Regions from separate parts of the Homo sapiens genome. Here region 2 is linked to region 1. The links are contacts of gene promoters, found by promoter capture Hi-C in blood cells and fetal thymus (Javierre and others, 2016). All regions are on one chromosome and are shown on one strand. The core of a region is centred on a gene start or on the middle of the fragment in contact, and the rest is flanking DNA. Distances in the headings are between cores, read along the strand shown. Region 1 holds the start of SAMM50 (SAMM50 sorting and assembly machinery component). Region 2 overlaps NUP50 (nucleoporin 50).

What was found. The method cuts DNA at HindIII sites, captures the fragments that hold promoters and counts their contacts. A CHiCAGO score of 5 or more calls a contact.
Region 2: a contact is called between a fragment that was not itself captured here and the fragment with the promoter of SAMM50 in region 1, in 1 of 17 cell types (non-activated CD4 T cells). The highest score is 5.1, in non-activated CD4 T cells.

What each region holds. Positions count from the first base shown.
Region 1 is chr22:43,954,068-43,956,843 of GRCh38, forward strand. It overlaps SAMM50 (SAMM50 sorting and assembly machinery component), which reads left to right and starts at 1,375. Exons shown (of 15, transcript NM_015380.5): 1 at 1,375-1,531. The coding sequence starts at 1,511. RefSeq lists enhancers at 600-1,352, 1,020-1,069, 1,150-1,229, 1,353-2,104, 1,910-2,119 and a silencer at 1,193-1,467. The HindIII fragment of the contact is 6,277 bases long and covers 526-2,776 here.
Region 2 is chr22:45,173,179-45,175,954 of GRCh38, forward strand. NUP50 (nucleoporin 50) reads left to right here. Exons shown (of 8, transcript NM_007172.4): 4 at 2,716-2,776. Among named protein-coding and RNA genes, the nearest start is that of NUP50, 11 kb to the left of the region's middle. The HindIII fragment of the contact is 4,030 bases long and covers 1-2,776 here.

The DNA.
Region 1 (2,776 bases), core at 125-2,624:
GTGACTTTGTTTTCCTCCTGTTCCCTCTGCCATCCTCCAGGGCCTCACACACAATAGGCTCTCAAATATTGCAACCATCTTGCACTCTGCAGGGCAACCTCATGGCTTATCCTTTACAAGTGGCATACTCAGAAGAATAACGAGGAAGAAAGTGTAAGAAAAGAGGGCTGTTTGGGCAAAGAAAATCTGGTTGATTCGATGTTTACAGAGTGCCAGGCCCCATGCTTGATCTCATGAGGTCCTCAGACCTTATGCCTTAGGCTATCATTTCCATTTTACAGATAAGGAATTGAGGCTCAGGGAACTGAGAGTGAGGGAAGGGCAGGGGCCTGGCTGGTGCTGGGTTCTGTCTCTTTCCAGGCAAGAAGGGACATGTGGACTTGAATATTTAGCTCAGGGATGTTGGAGGCCTAGGGTGCTGCTATTTAAATGGAAAGGGTGTCAGGGTTTCTGGGAGGGAGTAAGGGGACAGAAGAAAAGATGCTTCTGTTATCAGAAGGGAGTGGCAACGTGACAGGATACTGAAGCTTCCTCTTTTCTTATTCTGTCTCGTTTCTTTCAATATACTTATCACAATGTGTGGCTGATATTTATTATGCCTTTTTCTTTTCTATTCTCTTTTCTTTTTTGGGGCAGGGGAGCTGTTTTGCCACCAAAACCTAAGCCCATGGCCGTCTTCTTCACCGATATGACTGGTTCTCATGCAAGCACCTAGATGGCCCTCGCCCATAATTACTGGCTGCAGTTGAGTGAATAGCGGTCATTATCTAGCGCCCACCGTGTGCCCGGCCCGGTGCCGGGAGCTTTGCTTTCCGTCTCTCACATTAGGCCCTTTTAATCCAACCCCCAAGAAGGAGACACGACCATCGTCTTCATTTTGACGATTTTGAGTGGGGGTTCCAATGACTTGAACGAAAGGAGCCAGGGCACCAATCCGGGTTTGTGTAGCAGATGCCGGTGAGACCCGACTACTGCAGCTCGGGGGTGGCCGGACCCGGGGTCTCCCCGCTGAGTCTCGGGGCTTCACCGGCGCGTGGGCACAAGCACAGCACCCTCGGGTCGGGGGTGCTAGGAGGGCTAAGAGCAGCAGGACTTGAGTGACACCCAACAGCTGGTCTGATCTCTTTCAGGCGCCAACGCCAGACGCCAGCCTCCCAGCGGACCCTCTCGCAGACCCACCTTCACCCCACGCGCCCTCCCCACACAGTCCACGCGCCAGCAGCTTCGCGGATGTCAGTGAACGCTCTTCGCTTGCGCAGTCAGAACGTCCTCCGCGGCCGTGTGAACATCCGGGTCACAGGCGCATAAGGACCAATGAGCGAAGGCATCGCGAGCCAGGGGGCGCGGAGAAGGCGGGGAATCATGGCCGCCCCCAGTGTTCCGCGTCCGGGGGTTTGTGGGAGTTGCCTTGACCTGCAGCTCCGCCACCGCGGACCCGCCTTCTGCCCTCAGCAGCAGACGCTCTGTCCCGCCCGGGCAGCTCTGCGAGGCAGCGGCTGGAGAGGGAACCATGGGGACTGTGCACGCCCGGGTAAGAGGCCCAGCGACCCGCGGGCTGCGAGGCCTCTGGGCCAGCAGGGCAGACGGGCGCCGCGGGGAGACGCTCTCGTGGCTGCGCCCAGGGTTCACCGGGAGAGAGGGTGCCAAGGGTGCCGGGCTGGGTGGAGGAGGCCGAAAAGAGGTCGCCTCGGGCCAGCGAGTCTTGCAGACCTTCGAGCAGGAACCTGATAGGAGGGACGAGACTTGGCTAAAGGTCACTCGGCGAGTCCGTGGCCCAAAGGACTTGCCAACTTTCTGTGATGTCTTAGACCGCAGTGAATGTGCTCTTTCTTTGCATGATTTTAAGTTTTCTCTCTTTACTGGTCACTTCCAGCCTTTCCCCGCTCAGCCGCTGCTGGAGCCATTGTAGGCTCCTAGAGCAACAAGAATCCTTTGAAGTCTTCTAACTCAAACCTATCTAGGGGTCCTCTTTTCTCCTGTCTACCGTGCAAAAGACGGAACCGCTCTCTGCCTTACTTCCTGTTTTAAAGTGGAGGTAGTAATAGTACCTACCTCGCCTGGCTTAAAAGAGAATTAAAAGACAATGCATGTGAATACTTGGGTGCCTGGCGCCTGACTAACTGTACTGGTTGCCAAACTCCTCTCGTTTATCCTAATCTTAAATAAGGGCCAGATAATGAGTTACTTCTCCAAGGTCACATAGTTACTGGTTCCAAATGGCCTAAAACCTCAGATTTCCTGAGTCTCAGCCCCAACACTACTTTTCTACTGCAACTTTGATTGCTTCACTTGACCTGCATAGACGTTTTCAGTAGTTCCCCATTAACTTCCAAAAAAATTTAGCACAGAAGTCGCAGCCTGACATCGATAATTGGACTTAACTTCCCTTTATATGTCTTTCATTCAGATCAAACACCGTTTCTCTTCTGACATCTCTTTGTGTAACTGTAATAGGTCTGTTGCTCAGTGTGCTCGATAAGTCAATACACTCAGACAGTGGGTTGCAGCAGAGAAAGAGTTTCAGTTGCAGGGCCGCTGAACGAGGAGATGGGAAAAGAGAGGAAACCTCAAATCCATCTCCTTCAGGAGTTTGGACCTCATGTTTTTGCTGAAGTGTGGAGATCCTTGATTGGTGGAAGAGTGAAGGGTGAAGTTATGGGACAGGGAGATGAGGAAACTTCTCATGCTGATTCCGTTCCTCTGTTGCGGGGAGGAGTCTTCAAACTGGTTGGCAGCATCAGTTTTGCTGGAATTCGAGATCTGAAAAACATCTAAA
Region 2 (2,776 bases), core at 173-2,672, 1.2 Mb after region 1:
GGTCTTGTGTTTTGTAATTAATTAATTATATTTTGCTTAAAAATTGTATTTCTTATTTGACAAAAATTATATACTTATGGTGTACAACATGGTCTTATTTTCAGATGCATAATACATTTCTACCTGCCTGTTGTACAGTAAACCTCTTGAACTTCAGGTGTTTTTTTTTTTTTTTTGTCTGGTTTGATTTTATGAATTGCCTTGACTGGTGACTAGGTGGTAGACGTAGGTGTTGAGCTGAGTGATATTTGATGGCTCTTTCACTGGGAAGATACATGGGGGGAGGGACAGTTTAATTAAGGAGGAAATGGTTGGTCTTGGAAATGCTGTATTTGAAAGGCCTTGGTACACTCAAGTGGAGTGCCCTGGAAGACCACTAGGTATACAACAGGAATTATGGCAAGGATGGGCACAGCTCCGGCAGCTTTCGTCATGTGGGGGATTGAGGCCATGGGAATGGGCGACAGGAGGCATGCAGGTGGAGGGTCCTACGAGGAGTGAGAAACAAAGCTCACTGCAGAAGCCAAGGGAAGCCATTCTGAAGGAGGGGCAGTCACCTGTGCAACCGAAGGAAGTTCAAGAGGTAGAAATAGTACAGACCATAATCTACAACTTAAGCTGAAGGGATGAGGGAAGGAGAGGGCAGGAGCCCTTGGGCAACTAAGGGAAATTAAGTGTAGGTGGATAATAGAAATCCACAGATAATTTTAGCTGTAACTCTTAGCCTGAAGTTTTCATATATTAGGACAATTAAATGTCATGTCACCCACCAGAATGCTGAAATGCGGCTTTTCCTAAATAGTGGATTCAGTAGATCTGCTAAGCACTGGAGATGTATTGGTGAGTAAAAAAGACCAAAATCATCTTGCCCTATGGAAGAGAACAAATACATAGTATTAATTTTTCCTCTGTAAGTGCCATGGGGAACAGTAAAACCAATGAGGGAAATTGAGGGATGTGGGGCTGTGTCAGTGCCCATGGAGGAGCCCACATGGGTATTTTCCCTTTTTTTTTTTTTTTTGAGACAGGGTCTTTGTCGCCCAGGGTGGAGTGCGGTGGCACAATCTTGACTCTCTGCAACCGCCGCCTCCTGAGCTGAAGCAATCCTCCTGCCTCAGCCTCCTGAGTAGCTGGGACTACAGGCATGCGCCACCACACCCAGCTAATTTTTGCATTTTTGTAGACAGGGGGTCTCACTCTGTTGCCCAGGGTGGTTTCAAACTCCTGGGCTCAAGTGACCTGAATGTCTCGGCCTCCCAAAGTACTGGTATTATAGGCATGAGCCACCACACCTGGCCCCTTGATGAATATCTTAATCAACTTTTACTCTCATTTTTCTGAATATCTTTTTTTTGTTTAACTTGTGGTTCTTGAATTTTTGTTGTGATTCTAGAGCCAATTTACTATCAGCAATTTCTAAAATCCCTACAAGTGACTTTTAACTTTGTGCAAAATCGGAGGCTCTGAAAAGCCACTTAATGGCTTTATAGTTTGTCCATGAATCATTGTTTTAAAATGACAGCTATCAGTGTGGCGGGTTTGGAATTTTAAATGATGAAAAATCAAATGTAGAGCAACAGAATCTAAGCTCTGTTTATTATGTGCATTAAAACTCATACAAGTTACAATTTTCCATTCTTTGCCTCATTTTATTGCCTTAAATATATCAGTGGTCAGTAAACATCTGAAATTCTGTAGATGAGATTGAAACTTTGGTTTTGGAAAAACATGCAGTAATATTTAGGCTGACTGGCCCATTTAGTAAATGAAGGGGTTCCAGTTTAATTTTTTTTTTTTTCTGGTGAAATCATGGTTATAATTCACTCATGTGGAAACTTAAGATTTGTGAACTGTCTCTTAGATGTTCGGTCTAAGAAGCAGATCACTTCCTATAATGTAATCACTTCTTCGAACAACAACAAAAAAGGGCTTCTAAAAATTGTGGTGAGTTTATTTAGCAAAGCACTATAAACCGAGGAACCTTTCTCCAAAAGTTCCAGGGGCAGAGAGGAGCTTTAGAATTCATACGGAATGCCACACATTTCCAGAGCATCTTAGGTTAGAGATGTGAGCAGGCTAGCACAAAGGGAAAAGGCCTACTAGAAAAACCTTGTTAAAACAATCGAGTTTAAGGAAGCAGTGAGGAAAAGGAGAGTAAGAAGTTGTCCCGGGTTGTTCAGCTAACAGGAACATGTAGATTTGAGACTCGATCATCTAAGTTTTTGTAGGCTGAAAGCAGTTGCAAGCCACAGATGTTAAGAAATTAGGCAAATGGATATTTTTAGTTAACCTACCTTGATGTTTTTATCATTTCTTTAGGCAGTAAATGGTCTTTGACTGAGTAGTACATGAAGTATCTTTCATTTGGGATTTAGTTTTATTGAGCCGCTTCAGTAATTCTGAGGCTGGGTGGTGGGTACATAGGTTTATTGCATTAGTCTTTCTTACCTTTTATGTCCTAAAAATACACATAATATATTTTTTAAATGTCCTTCCTGCCTGTTTCAGGAAAGCAGCTTTGGGTTGCAAAGCTGTTCTTATGAATACAATCTTCCCATCTCATTTCTTATTTCTGCTTGTGCCAGCAGTTTGCCTTATAACGCTGACTGCATGTGGAGTCTAGGTGCTGTTTAGCCAAGATGCTGTTGTCACTCACTTGCTTTTTGGTAATAGAAAGTACACTTACCTAATGTGTGCTCCTCCTTCATACTTCAGTCTGACACTGGAGGAGCCTTTAAAGGTTTTAAAGGTTTGGTGGTACCTTCTGGAGGAGGAC